Regions from separate parts of the Homo sapiens genome. Here regions 2 and 3 are each linked to region 1. Evidence: promoter capture Hi-C in human tissues and cell types (Jung and others, 2019). All regions are on one chromosome and are shown on one strand. Each heading gives the region's core, a stretch centred on a gene start or on the middle of the fragment in contact. The rest is flanking DNA. Distances are from core to core; before and after follow the strand shown. Region 1 holds the start of SIX6 (SIX homeobox 6). Region 2 overlaps C14orf39 (chromosome 14 open reading frame 39). Region 3 has its middle 50 kb from the start of SIX6.

The links. Contacts are between HindIII fragments. The study calls those that stand out against the background at their distance.
Region 2: a contact is called between a fragment that was not itself captured here and the fragment with the promoter of SIX6 in region 1, in 2 of the 25 tissues and cell types used here (dorsolateral prefrontal cortex and psoas muscle).
Region 3: a fragment that was not itself captured here is called in contact with the fragment with the promoter of SIX6 in region 1 in 4 of the 25 tissues and cell types used here (H1 embryonic stem cells, lymphoblastoid cells, neural progenitor cells and 1 more).

The regions. Positions count from the first base shown.
Region 1 is chr14:60,506,792-60,511,651 of GRCh38, forward strand. It overlaps SIX6 (SIX homeobox 6), which reads left to right and starts at 2,355. Exons shown (of 2, transcript NM_007374.3): 1 at 2,355-3,179; 2 at 4,293-4,860. The coding sequence starts at 2,608. The coding sequence ends at 4,461. It also overlaps a transcript of C14orf39 not described here. RefSeq lists an enhancer at 4,223-4,860. The HindIII fragment of the contact is 5,424 bases long and covers 1-4,638 here.
Region 2 is chr14:60,465,048-60,469,907 of GRCh38, forward strand. C14orf39 (chromosome 14 open reading frame 39) reads right to left here. Exons shown (of 18, transcript NM_174978.3): 8 at 4,486-4,606; 9 at 3,398-3,489; 10 at 1,870-1,997; 11 at 932-1,008. Among named protein-coding and RNA genes, the nearest start is that of C14orf39, 19 kb to the right of the region's middle. The HindIII fragment of the contact is 6,931 bases long and covers 1-4,860 here.
Region 3 is chr14:60,556,369-60,561,228 of GRCh38, forward strand. No RefSeq gene overlaps it. Among named protein-coding and RNA genes, the nearest start is that of SIX6, 50 kb to the left of the region's middle. The HindIII fragment of the contact is 7,153 bases long and covers 1-4,860 here.

The DNA of each region.
Region 1 (4,860 bases), core at 1,105-3,604:
AGTTGCCCGCGAGCCTCAGACACGCAGAAGCTAAAGCGCCCTCATCTAATTATTTGCAGAACTATTATCCAAGAAATGGGCCATGGGATAAATATTCCCATTTCCTGGATGGGGCCCCTAGACTGTCCACTTGCTCACAAAGATTAAGGGTAAGAAACCAGCTCTCCCCGAATGTGCCGCTTCCAAACTGTCCAGTAAAAGGGCGAGAGGGAGACGTGTGGTCTCCTGGGGCATGGACAACCTCTCCCACCTCAGCAGCTAGGCGCTGGGATCGGGGTCGGCTCTCGGCTCGGCTCGCGGGCTGTAAGGTCTCCGCGGACCCCACCGCCTCTTCTGCGCGCTAAGGGTGAGCGCCAAGCAATTTCGCGAGCAATAGCCGGCAAAGTAACCACCCCGAGAGGGAAAATAAACCTCTGCAAACTGGAGCAAGGGGGTGCTTTCCTCCCCTGGCCAGAAGCTCCGGGATCGCAGCCCTCCCGGGTCCGGCTTCATCCCTGCCCGGCCACCGAGGCCCTCTTTTTCTGCACCGCGGATTCTCCTCCGCCTGCGTGTTCGGGGCCCTTGTATCCGATGTTTCTTTCTAAAAGTTGTCCTTCCGGCTGATTCGGAAGTCGCTCCAAGGGAAAGAAGGTTTATGCTTTGTCATTATCTTCATCGCCCTCTTTATTTTGCCCCTGCCTTGTCGTATTTCAAGAAAATGAACTCTTAGAAAAGAAAGCCTCTCCGTTGAGGCGGTTGGCAATCTCACAGAAATGATGTAAATGGTTTCAGGGCTTTTTTCTTCCCCTCTGCTATTTTTTTCGAGTGAACTGTGAAGATCTGTGAAAATAATATCAGGGTTTTCCGTCAGAACGAGCTTTGCCCTGCACTCAGGCGTGGCGTGATCTGACCCGACACCTCCAACCATCTGTGCTATCTATCTGCCTTCTGATTTACCAGATCTGTACAAGCCGCATACAAATTGTACTTGATACTAAAGAAAAGACAGTCGGGTCCAGTCCAGTTCGGCTGTGAACGTTCTCACCTGATTTCTGTCTAGGGATGGACCTCCCCAAAACGGTTTTCCTGGCGTTTTTGTTATACAGCCCCCTACCAGTTATTTTCTTCAAACTAAACAAACCCCTACCACAGGCCCAGATGAGATCATGGTTTCTTTGACCCAGGCCTCAGAAAATGGTATGATGTGGACTGCCAATTGGGAATCAATAAAAGTTGCCAATTCACTCCACTAGCCCAAAGTCAGAGCCACCAAGCCACTCCTTCCTCACTACAGGAGGGGTCAATAATCAGCGGCTTAGGAAGTGCTTTCTGGGCCCCCGCATTGTCGTGGATGCCCTTCTGTATTGTATTTTTACTGAATTGTTTTTGAGCTAAAATGCCAAGGTTAGAGTTGTTATCCCCAGCTCAAGAGGTATAAGTTCTAACACAAGGTAGGGGCAAAATAAGCCTACAAGGAAAGGAGTTAAGTCGATATTTTAAAAAAGATCTAGGAAATAAGCTTTTAAGTTGCTGTCCTGACCTACCAATGACTTCTCGGCTCTAGATGTGGCTATGCTGCACTTTGTTCAAGTCCATTAAACTGGGGGAGGGGGAGAAAGTATATTTCTCCCCCTTTATTTGGAGGTCCCTACAGCCCACCCTTCTTTTCTTAAAGTGTCTGACTTCGTGGTCTGCATCTGCGTTATCAGACGTGAACATGTCCTTGTTGGCATTTAAAATTATTTTAGTGGGCTTTGAAGGGAGTAAGGCTAGAGTTCAAACTGACCTCTTCTACAGATCCCTGGTCCTGTTCCTGCTGCTCCAGATTTGCTTCCCACTCAGCTGCTTTGGCAACTGGAAAGGGGAAGAGGGAGGCATGCAGAGATGGGTACTTGGGAAAAATGAGAAGATCGCTTCCCCCCACCGGCTTCCTGCTCCCACCGCAAGGTTTGCTGTTTCGTTACAACTAAACTTGCGAATTCTCGGAGCATTTCAGTTTGGCCCAGTCCTCTTTGTCCTCTGGAGACCTCTCGACCGAGACAACGCATCGCCCCAAAGTGAATTCCTGAATTCCTGTGGCATCACTGCCTATTTGGTGGGAAAAAGGGAGGGAGGGGTAGAGCGGGGTGGGGGAGGGAGGAGTAGTGAACGCTGCCGCACTCGCCTCTCTTTTTCTCCCAGACACTCGCATGTCTTTTCAACCTCCAGGTTCTGCAAAATACTGAAGAAAAGTCCAGGAGCTAACGGCGGGCGCTGTCGAGCACGGGGAGGTGCTGAAATAGTCCTGGCGTGCTGATTCAAGCTTTGATTGGCAGAGCCACCCGGTGACTGACAGGGGGTCTCCATGGCGCCCGCGCCGCCAATCCGCCCACCCCAATAGCGGAGCCAGCTCGCCTGCCGGCGTGCCTGAGCCGAGCCGAGCCCGAACCCCAAGCCGCGGAGCCAGCACCTCCTCCAGTCGGGGTCGTCCGCTCCCGGCCGTTGAGCCACCGCCGCCACCCGGTAGTGTGTCCCGCTGCCCCAATCCGCCTCATCAACAAGCGCCTGGCACACTCAGCCAGGCCCGCGGGCATCTGCTGCGTGTCCCGCTCCGGGCTCAGTGCCCTCGCCGCCGCCGGCACTGCCTCGATGTTCCAGCTGCCCATCTTGAATTTCAGCCCCCAGCAAGTGGCCGGGGTATGTGAGACCCTGGAAGAGAGCGGCGATGTGGAGCGCCTGGGTCGCTTCCTCTGGTCGCTGCCCGTGGCCCCTGCGGCCTGCGAGGCCCTCAACAAGAATGAGTCGGTGCTACGCGCACGAGCCATCGTGGCCTTTCACGGTGGCAACTACCGCGAGCTCTATCATATCCTGGAAAACCACAAGTTCACCAAGGAGTCGCACGCCAAGCTGCAGGCGCTGTGGCTTGAAGCACACTACCAGGAGGCTGAGAAGCTGCGTGGAAGACCCCTGGGACCTGTGGACAAGTACCGAGTAAGGAAGAAGTTCCCGCTGCCGCGCACCATTTGGGACGGCGAACAGAAGACACACTGCTTCAAGGAGCGCACGCGGCACCTGCTACGCGAGTGGTACCTGCAGGATCCATACCCTAACCCCAGCAAAAAACGTGAGCTCGCCCAGGCAACCGGACTGACCCCTACGCAGGTGGGCAACTGGTTCAAAAACCGCCGACAAAGGGACCGAGCGGCTGCAGCCAAGAACAGGTCGGTACCTAGAGGCCTCCGCGCTTTGAGCGCACCGGGGAGGAGGCGGGTGGAGGCACCTCTGGCGCCCTTACCCAGTCCCTGGCGACTCCAATTCAGCAGGAGTTGGGAGCGCGGTCTGTCTTGGGTTAAGAGCCCTGCGTTCTGGGCTCCTGGCCGGGAGTTCCCTTGCCGGCTCTGCTTCCCCACCCGCTGGCTCCCCACGCCTGCGGGCAGCTGCAGCAGCTGGTCCCGGTCACCAAACCAAGGCTTCACTGGGACGGAGAGGGGAAGAGAAATAAAAAATTAAAATCCTACAAACAGTTAGGGACCCCAAGACCCAAAGCTAATTCTTGTCAGCCTGGGCACAGGCTCCTACTATTAATCGAAGCCTGGCTTATTAGCAATGTGTCGGTTTCATGTTAATTATCATTTTCAAAGCCCAGGTATATCCCTCCCTAATGCTTTGAAAACAGTTTTCAATGGACTTTTGAGAAATGGGAAGTCGAGTTTTCCTCTTCCCATGCGCTGCCTGCCACTCTTGTCTCAAAACAGCAAACTAGTCCGTGGGCCGAGGCTTTTCGTTTCCCGGAGTGTGGATCTCGATTAGCCAAACATTTTGCGGAAGAGCCCGGCCTCATCCCCCAGGCCCAAATGCTCCTTACAATCCTTTTTGCCTTTAGGTCGGGCCGACCCGATCCAACGCGATCGCGGGAGCACTTGCTCAGGCGTAAGCCCCAGGCAGACGCACCGTTAGAAATGGTATCCCATGTCCCTGGGACCGATCTGTCCTTGTCACCCACACTTCGTTTATTTCCTGACAGTCCTGTAAATCTCCCAAAAGTGCACAACAAACAGGGAGGACACTGCAAGCCCAGTATATAAAAGACCTGGGAGCTGCGGCGCTGAGAAAGGGCGCGAATCATGGTGGGGCACAACAGTAGGGACCCGCGGAGGGGCGGCCGCGGACTCCTGCCCGACCTCTGTCGCCTTGCCGAGTAATCCTCGCCTTAACTGCTGGGGTCTTCGGAAGAACCTCTAGCCGCCGGGCTGGAGGGACGCAGGAGGTGGTGGGGGCGGGCGACGGGCGGCTGTGTTACGAGCTGTGACCCGTGTTCCCTTTCTTCCCCGTAGACTCCAGCAGCAGGTCCTGTCACAGGGTTCCGGGCGGGCACTACGGGCGGAGGGCGACGGCACGCCAGAGGTGCTGGGCGTCGCCACCAGCCCGGCCGCCAGTCTATCCAGCAAGGCGGCCACTTCAGCCATCTCCATCACGTCCAGCGACAGCGAGTGCGACATCTGAGTTGCCCATCCAGGATGCTCAGAAGCAGATTCCAGTGTAAAAACGAGAAAAACAAAATGAAAGAGGGGAAGAAGATGAGAGACCTGCAAATCCAGCGCCACAGAAGCCAGGTGACCAGGGACCCGCGGGCTCGGGTTGCCGTTTCCCGCCCCACCCCGCGGCCGGCCTGGCTTCACTGGCGCCCTTTGGCCGCGACCACGGGAACCAGCGGTGAGGCCTGACCCAGCACCACGTTCTTCTTGCTTTGCTTTTTCCTAAGGATTTTGCTGCAAAGTCTCCTTCGGAACCCGAACTGCAAGCTGAGCGCCTGCCCAGATTCTCCCATGGGTATTTCACGTCGAAAGGACGCTGTTACATATGTATAACTTTCGCTTTAAAGTTTTTTTTTAACAAAACATA
Region 2 (4,860 bases), core at 634-3,133, 42 kb before region 1:
TTTCCAACAATGTATAGAGTTCATCAGCGTTCATATCTTCTCCCTACCTCTATCCTTAAATAAAAAATAGAACTCTGGTAAACTTTTATTTTTCTCATTTATCTTTCCACCCTTATCACATATTGACATCATCTGGAATTTCAGTACCAGATTTAAAAATTTTTATAAGTTATACATATTTACACTTGAGTTTCACTAATTACTTTGGTCACCACTACCAGTGGAAGAACAATTATATTTTTCATTGAGGCTTTCCCTCTGGACTATTTTCAGGAAGAATGGGGAAAGATAAAAAAGTGTGCCACCAGCAGTTAGCTCTCTGGGTGGTATGCTCCTTGTTCTTCATGGGCATCAAGAACCACCCAGGGGACCTGCCTATCTCTCTCACCTAAACTTCCATATTCACTGCTTCCACCTGGAGACAGTCATTCCATTGCTGATGCCTGGCCAAAGATACAGTGGATATAAGATGAACAGGGGGTTAAGTAAACTAACTACCACTGAGGTAACGCAACCAATTACCTTACTCATCATCCGTATACCTTTATCTTGTAGAACGGTATTCTCCTATGCATGTCCTGGGCAATAATTTCCCTCTTCAATCCAATCCTGCTATTTTCCTTCAGGGATTTCTCACAGTTTTGGATCTACTATGTACAGAGCTTGGTATTTGAAAATATCTTTTTCTATTATTTTTAGGGATAAGGGGACAGGTTACAGTATATAATCAGAATGCCATATTGAAACACCTTTAAATTTTTTAGACCTTGAGTTTGCACTAATGGCTGATTTAATAAATTTATAACACACACACACACACACACACACACACACACACACACACACGTCTGTGTCTTAAGGGCAGTACATTCATTATTACATTTAATGCAAGCAGGTATTTAATTTATACTACTAAAAGTGAGACACCTACCTGTGTATCATTTTCTTTTTGTCTAAAGTCAATATTGGCAAGCTTTGACTGCTTCGCAGAACTTTCTTCTTTTATATCTAGATTATTAAATAGTACTACTTTAAATCAATGCTGGAAACAGAATCAAGTATCTTCCCCAATGTTTAACCTAAACTTGTAATTTAGAAAATCAAGTCTACATGAATTTTTAATTTAAATTAAAATACGGAATTATGAAATTATTTTAAAACTCTTAATTCCTTACTATATAATAGCTTTACAATAACTATGAAGATGAAATGACAAAAGGCCAACTGACAAAACTGTACCTTTATAATGGGTTACCAAAGAAGACAGAGTGGTTGAGAAGACAAAGAAACCAGCCAATGTAGTTAATCTAATATAATGTATTAGGTTGGTGCAAAAGTAATCATGATTTTTGCCATTACTTTTAATGCCAAAACCATTATGTAATGGTAAATGCCATTAAATTTTAATTAAACGCAATGGCAAAAACCATGATTACTTTTGCACCAACCTAATAGTTAATTTAATCTGCAGAGCCACTGAATGAAACTTGATTCAAATATCTCAGTGACTAAGTTATAGATACTATTAGCATAAGTCTTTTACCTGCCTAAGTCACACATATTGATAATCAACTCCTCAAATGAAAAATATGTAATTTTTCCTCCTCCTCTAACAGCTGTGCAACCAGGCCAGAACACTTTTTTTGAAATTTATTGTGTGAATAATTCCTTTCTCAAAGAGAAAAAAGTTACGTATAGAAGACATATTTTGTTTGCTCTCAGAAAGATTCAAAGCAGTACTCTCTTGAGTTTATAGGTCTCCAGTATTGTTTTTACTTACACCAAATGATAAATAAAATTGCTTCCTTCTATTTCTTCTGTGTGTTTGCAAAAAAAATGATGTTTTTGAATAACAAACAGATATTATACCTGCAACTCTTGGTTCTGAAGAATGCATCTTTATTGGTCTTACTAATTTCTGAGATTCATAAGGAAGAAATAATTGACTGCTTTGAGTTTTATTCAATGTAAGTACATGCTCATCTTTTCCAAAAATTCTAAAGAGAAAGGTGAATTACATTAAATATTAGATAAGTTAAAATTAACATATTTTAAAGCTAGGAGGCATATTTAGATACTATATAATAAAACCCCTCGTTTTGCAGATAATAAAACTGAGTTCCAAAGAATTTAATAGACTTGCCCAAAATGACTGAATTACTTAGTAGTGGTGTCAGAGCAAAAACACACTTCCCCTGATTAAGTTCAATGCTCTTCTCAATATAGTCCACTCTTATTTTTAAAATATAATCATTGCAAAAGACTTCCTACACATGTCAAAAACATTTTAAGCCAAAACTTGTAACTACAAATAGCATGCTTCAGATTTCATGGTACTTTAAACTTTAAAAAGACATATTCAGAAATAAATCAACCAACATGAATACAGAAATTGTTAAAACAGTATTATAATCATAAATGGGTCTTTTAAGTTTTTTACTGAAAGAATAGTTTTCACTAAATTTTATCTAAATTGAAGAAATAGAATAAACAGTGTCAGAATATATATTGAGTTAAAAATGACTAAATATTTATATGTTTCTGTCAATACATGGAATTTTTCTTAAAGGCGGTCAATAAAGTAAAATTCTGTCTATTTACCTATTTTTTCAATTAACTTCATTATAAAATTAAAGACACACTTGCACTGAATGTGGTACATGGGAGTGGAGGAATCAAGAAAATAACACATCCAAAAAAAGTAGGATCAGGGAAATTAACCCGACAGAAGAATGTGTTGAAAAATCAGATTAAGGGCCATGGAACTTGAGGAAAGGAGTTTCAGAAGAATGAAAAAGGATATAAGTAGGGGGAAAAAGTAAAAGCTGGTCAGAAATAGCAATAGTAATACATCTATTTTTCTGTCATATGATAACAGGCAAAGTCCATCTATTTTTTTTTTTGGCCTCTATCACTGATCTCTATTTTATCGCCATTAAAACAAAAGACAAGGAAATATGATGCCACACATTTAGTAGCATGCTTTGACTCATCTTCACTCTATAGCAAAGGAAGAACTGGTCAAGGTGGACAGGGTGATAAAAAAGTAAATACCTTGCTATTCCCACCATTGTTTCTGTTTTACTCCTATTGCTGGCCCATCATGGAAAACACTGGATGAATTATACAACTGACAGGTTCTAGAACAGCAGATGTGCTGCTGCTACTCTATTTCTCTTTACACATTATCCTCAGCCTTACTAAATAACAAGCAGATTTTAGTATTAGCTCATAATATTTAATAATATTTTTCATAAGAAATTAATAGAAAATAGCCTGCACAACAAAATTTACAGATACTGTGTAAATATTAGTGGTTTGGGATGGAATATAGAATCAAACTTTTAGATGCAAAATATCTGTTCACATAAAATTTAATTTTAAAGGTTACCTATACCTTTCTTTCAGTTCTTTTCTGTTTTCTGTATTTTTGTTCTTTTCTTCCAGAGTTTCTGAAAGAGCCTTAGTTTCATTATGCCTAGATATCTGCTAAAAAGACAATTGGGAACACAAAACAAAATAATTACTTGCAAAGCAGTAAAAAAAGATATGCTTTATCTTATGTTTTTTCTATATAATCATAAGATTCATATTTTTGATAGCATTTACTATCTTCTATTTACAGTTATTAAAACAAAAACAAAATTAACAATAAATCACACCCGTTTAACTTTTCCTTACAATTCCATTGGCAAATGTAGATTTTAACAAACTCCCATCTTTTTAAAAACAGATAATTATAAGCAAAGTAGACATTGATTCCTTACATTAAGGACAGTTACCATATATTTTAAAGGAAATGGCATCTACTTTCTTCTGTTTACTAAAATGATATTACTGTTATTTGGTACCTCATACTTAATGAAAGATAAGTATACAGTATTTAACATAATTTTCAAAAATTTAGAAAATCAGGTATCATAGTCAAATTTTTCTCAGAATTTGGAAGCGACTTTGATGGGTTATCATAGCTATGTAAATAAAAGCCACAATTTCATGGATGACATCCAAATGTTTCCAAGAAAAGTTTAAAGGCTAAACTAGTTCTAGCCTAGCTCGCTAAAGATTATAGTCATATATTTTTCAAGTTTAAATTCTTTATTTACTACCTTTTTAAAAAACACTGGCGTAGATCTTTTAATGCCTTTAAAATCCTGTTACTATGTTGCATCTTATTCCTTCCTCATGTTCTCTCCTCAGACCTCAAAGAAAGCTAAACTATTCCCCAAAATATATTCAGTACCTAAATATATATATTAAATTATATACAAATTAATATAAAATATATTAATAAAATTAATAAAAAATATAAATTAATATATTCAGTACCTAAAATACCTTTTGGCTCCAAAGGTAATCTAAATTATCTTAAACCTTTCTCCACATTAGGCTCTCTTAAAAATAGCTCTTCTAAAACTGTCAACTAACATACCATTATACTTATACATTAATACACATATTAGAAATATATAACAAAATATATACCTGGTTTAAATAATTAATTTCTATTTCCATTTCATCTACTTCTTTCTTCAATTCGGATGAACTTTTGGTAAGATTGCTGGCATGTTTAAGAATATCTTGTGTTTCACATCTCAAATTAACACTTTTTATGTTAAGGAACTATGTCATATAAGTAAATTTTATATTTATAATATATGTGCCATATCAGAAATGATTAATATTATGTGACATCATTTATATGTATGTTTCATATAAACAGTAAGCAATATTAAAAACAGTATCTGAAAACAGGAGAATAATATAAACATTTGGCAGACTAACAGATAATTTATTGTTTATGTTATATACTGAGCTTAAAAAAACATTTCATACAAAATATTTGTTAGGATTATTTCA
Region 3 (4,860 bases), core at 1,310-3,809, 50 kb after region 1:
GAAAATACAAAGGATCATAAAAGATGACTGTGAACAATTATACACCAACAAATTGGATAATCTAGAAGAAATGGATAAGTTCCTAGACACACAACCTACCAAGACTGAATCATGAAAAAATAGAAAATCTGAACAGACCAATAACAAGTAAGGGCTTTAAATCAGTAATAAAAATATCCTATCAAAGAAAAGCCCAGAATCTGATGGCTTCACTGCTGAATTCTACCCAGCAATTAAAGGATTAAAGCAATTCTCAAACTCTTCTAAAAAATTGAAGAAGAAAGAATAAAATGAAACAATAATCACTAGTTTGCGTGGTTGTTCTGAGATTTAGAGATAATACATGTAAACACCTAACATAATATCTGGTCTCCAGTGAGTGCCATTAAATGGTATTCTTATGCACATTTCAGCCTGGCATGGTGGCTCATGCCCATAATCCCAGCACTTTGGGAGGTCAAGGTGGGTGGATCACTTGAGCCCAGGAGTTCCAGACCTGCCTGGGCAATATGAAGAAACCTCATCTCTACAAAATTACAAAACTTAGCCAGGTCTGGTTGCACACACCTGTGGTCCTAGCTACTCGAGAGGCTGAGGTGGGAGGATCGCTTGAGCCCAGAAAGTTGAGGCTGCTGTGAGCTATGTTCAGGCTACTGCACTCTAGCCTGAACGACAGAATGAGACCCTGTCTCAAAAAAAAAAAAAAAAAAAAATACACATTTCAATTCAAAGAATAATACATGTAAAGAACAAATTCACTTTTCAAAATTTGAAATTATATACATAAATTATGTAGGTCACTCTTACCAATAACTGTTTGCTAAAGAGAAATTGTTTAATACCAAAATACTTTATTCTAAGCTTTGCTTTCACCATCAATTCTAACTTGGTCATAAATCACAGCAATAAAGGCTGCCTCCATGTGAGTCTGAATGTCTAAGCTCCAAGAGCCAAAAGATGATTTTGTTTTTCATCTACCTTTGGGTTCCAGCTTACAAATATTTTCATTAAACATCTAATGACTTTGCAATGAAGTTACTATTTCTCTGTTCAGTGCCCAATTTAAAGCTAAACAAGTGGAAAGATTTAATATAATTTAATATAATTATTGCCTCATAAAATATCTAGGGTTGGAATTAATCCCTAAATTACCTGTACGTATACATAACTTTAGGAAGACACACTAAGTAAAAAGCAATTCCTTTTGTGCTGTTTTGTAAGGTTGAAGGCAGAAAAACAGCTTCTGTTCAGAGGAGGCCCCCAGTGAATTAAGGTTAAAAGGATTTGCCCTTGCAGGACCCCAGGTCTCTAATTGGGGCCTTCAATTCCTGTAATCCAGAAGGATTGAGACCAGACGCTTCTAGATTATTGCCAAAGCCCACAGGTGACTCAAAAGGAAAAAACAATTAGTGCCCCAAAAACCCTTCAGATAGAAAAGAGGTATTTAATGAAACCTGAAGCAGGCCCAGCCAGGGCAAGCTTCTTAGTGAATATTCAGCCATTAGCAAAAGGGAAGAAAATCTATTTATTTCCCTGTTCAGTTTTAATTTCACTAAATATCTGAGGTTTTTCTTTCTAGGGTACATTAATTTGCTACTTTAAAGGGACTACAAGGGTGATTATATCCATATTTAAGATTCTTTGCAATGCCACAATCTTTAATAGTAATAAAAATAAAACATATCATATAAAGAATTCAAATTCTATACATTTTTATTCTTGTAACACATAAGCCTGTGTGAAGAATCTAAAATCTTACAAACCCATTAAACTGCAAGAATAATTCAAGCAGGAAAGATTAGTATGGAAGGAAGGTTCTAGAAGCTAGGCTCCAAATGTACAGTGGTTCTCAACCTGGGCTGCACACTGGAATCACATGAGGAATTTTTTAAAATACCAATGCCCTCTACCCACCCATGAAGATTGTGACATAATCGGTCTGGGGGCAGCCTGGACATTAAGGATTTTAAAATCTCACCAGGTGATTCTAAAGTGCATCTAAGGCTGAGAATGACCTCTTTAAAGAAAAGTCAACAGGAGTATCGAAGACAATCATCTATTCCATTCAGGACCAGCTGCATGATTTTCAGGGCCCAGTGCAAAATGAAAATATGGGTCCCCTTGTTTCAAAATTACTAAGAATTCAAGATGACGAGAGGCAAGCATTAAACCAAGCGTGGGGTTCCTCTAAGCACAGGGCCCTGTCTGAGTGTCCAAGTCACAGGCCCATGAAACTGGCCTTGATTCCATTCTTTACTAAACCAAACTTTTATTTTTTAGGAACTAGTTTCTTTGGAATGGTGAGGAAATATGTCATCTTCTCAATGTGGTATTCACTGTGTCTCTAGGATCCCACAAGTAACTAATCTCTGAGCAATATCATTGTCTATTTAAACAGCCTGATTTGCCTTGAAAGCTCCCTCACTCTGTCAAGATGAATAAAAGGCAGAACTATAGAACGATTTTATAGAGACAATTGGGAATTTCACTTCGTAACCTCATCTACAATAAAAAAAAACTTACCTATGAAATATTAACTCTGAACGAAGGCTTCTTGGTCTAGAAAATAAAACATCTGGACGCAGCTGCTCATGGCTATATTCCCAACACTGGGAGGCCAAGGTGGGTGAATCGCCCTGGGCAATAGAGTAAGATCCCGGTCTCTACAAAAAATGCAAAAATTAGCTAGATGTGGTGAAGCATGCCTATAGTCCTAGCTACTCAGGAGGCTGAGGTGGGAGGATCACACGATCCAACCACTGCACTCCAGCCTGGGCGACAGAGTAAAACCTTGTCTCAAAAATAAATAAATAAACACAACAAACAAAAATCTTTGAGTCTGGAATAGTCTCTTTTAAAAACTCACTAATTCTCACATCTCTGCCCCATGCATCTGGCAATTATCACACTACAAATTTTATTAGCCAACATCTACAGTAAAGATTCAAACTTCTAAGCCTCCATTTGTTTAACAAATTGTTCTTATCTATTTACCAAAAGATATAATATCTGTTTACCAGTATGTATAGTTCTTATCTATTTACCAATATTTGTAGTATATTAAATATTACTATAATTTCTGGGAAAACCTGATAATCAAATATGTAGGAACTCCCTAATTGCAAATTTTGTCACTCTAGTCTTTTCAGGTTAAAGGATCACTTTTTTCTCTCTTTCACATTATACAATGTTAGGAGAGCCCCCTGCTGTCCAAAGTAAAATTCTAATTTCAGAAAATTTAAATAAATGGAGCACAATGCCTGCCCTCTCCTCACCCAGTTTATCCTCTTAGTATCACTGCTCTTGGAACTAATAGGGGAAGATTTAAGATTAGAGAGAATTAGAAAAAAGCTGTGAAAAACAGGCTTTGACTTGGGAGGGAAAAAAAAGTCAGACTCCTAGTTAGATAGATCTCAGATGCCCAATCACCCCAACACACACACACACACACACACACACACACACACACACACACAGACACACACGCTTCAGCCTCTACCCAACATTTCTAACCCTTCACTTCTCATTTGCATTTTGCAATGCTCCACTGTCTGAGATCCGTTAGGTTGAAATGAACCAGAAACTCAGGGGATGAGAGCCCAGCAATCTGTGTTTTAATAAGCCCACCAGAGGATTCTGATGCATGCCAAAGTTTGAGAAACACTAATTTACAACATTACCTCTTCTGATGAAATGAGAGATTTCATTTCAGAGGCACACAATCTAAATGTTCATAAGTGACTCAAGGAGTTTGTTACAAATCCAGATAGATTTGCAGGCCCCACCTCACCCTCAGATATTTTGATTCAGTAAGTCTACAGTAGGATCCAGAAATCTGTATTGAACAAGCACCACCGGTGATTCCAATGCAAGTTAATGGAAGGACCATACTTCCTAAGTCACTAATATAGTGAGTGGGGTGGGTAATTCTAGAGCATGGAGCACATTAGGAATATGTTAGACTTGAGTGGGAAACCACAAGGTGGGAAGCATTAAAGATAGCATGGGAGTCCTGGTTCCTTGGGAGAAGGGTGCAGAAAAGGAAGCTGGCACTGGCCAAATATAAATTGTTCTTGTTTTAAAATATTTTGCCTGGGTTTTGTTCTGCTTCATAAAAACAAAAGACCCTACTTCCTTCTCATCTCTATTACTGCATGGCTCCTTTCTACAGGCCCCAGAAATCAGGCTACAGTTATTGTGAAAGTCATTATGGTTTAATTGAACTTTTGTTGACTAGTCAGAGAAACTAACCATCATATATGATCATTTTTATGGGAATGTGTTCCTATAGAACAAATATTTAAAAGAAACTTTTGGAACATAACCCTTTTATAAGTTGGGAATTGGCTGATTTTATTTAATTTTTCATAATTTTGTCTTGAACTTATGGATATGCCAAATAGTGAGTAGGGAAGAGTTTTACCGTGAGTGGCTGCCAAATTAAAGTTTAATTTGATTTAAACTTTAGAATATGTAATCACTGATATATATAACCCTAAGTCTTACTGAGTATATAGTAGTCTTTTTATTGCTTGCTGTCCCACAATATACAATAAATGGCAGCTGCATACATTAATGTACAGAGTATGCATTATATATCTATATCAATACTGAATACATCACACATGCACAATGTATTATATAACTGTCTCATATGCATATATTACAGGTACTTTATATAATATAGAATGCATATGTATAACCAATTTAGGAACAAGCAGTATCATGAGATGTTACGTGGCAGTACACTCTGTTTTTAAGAGTTTGGCCCTGAAGAGATTAGAAATATATGAACATTGAGTCCAATTATTCACACAACTATTCAAAACAGTATTTTGGGGAAAAACATATGTTCAAAAC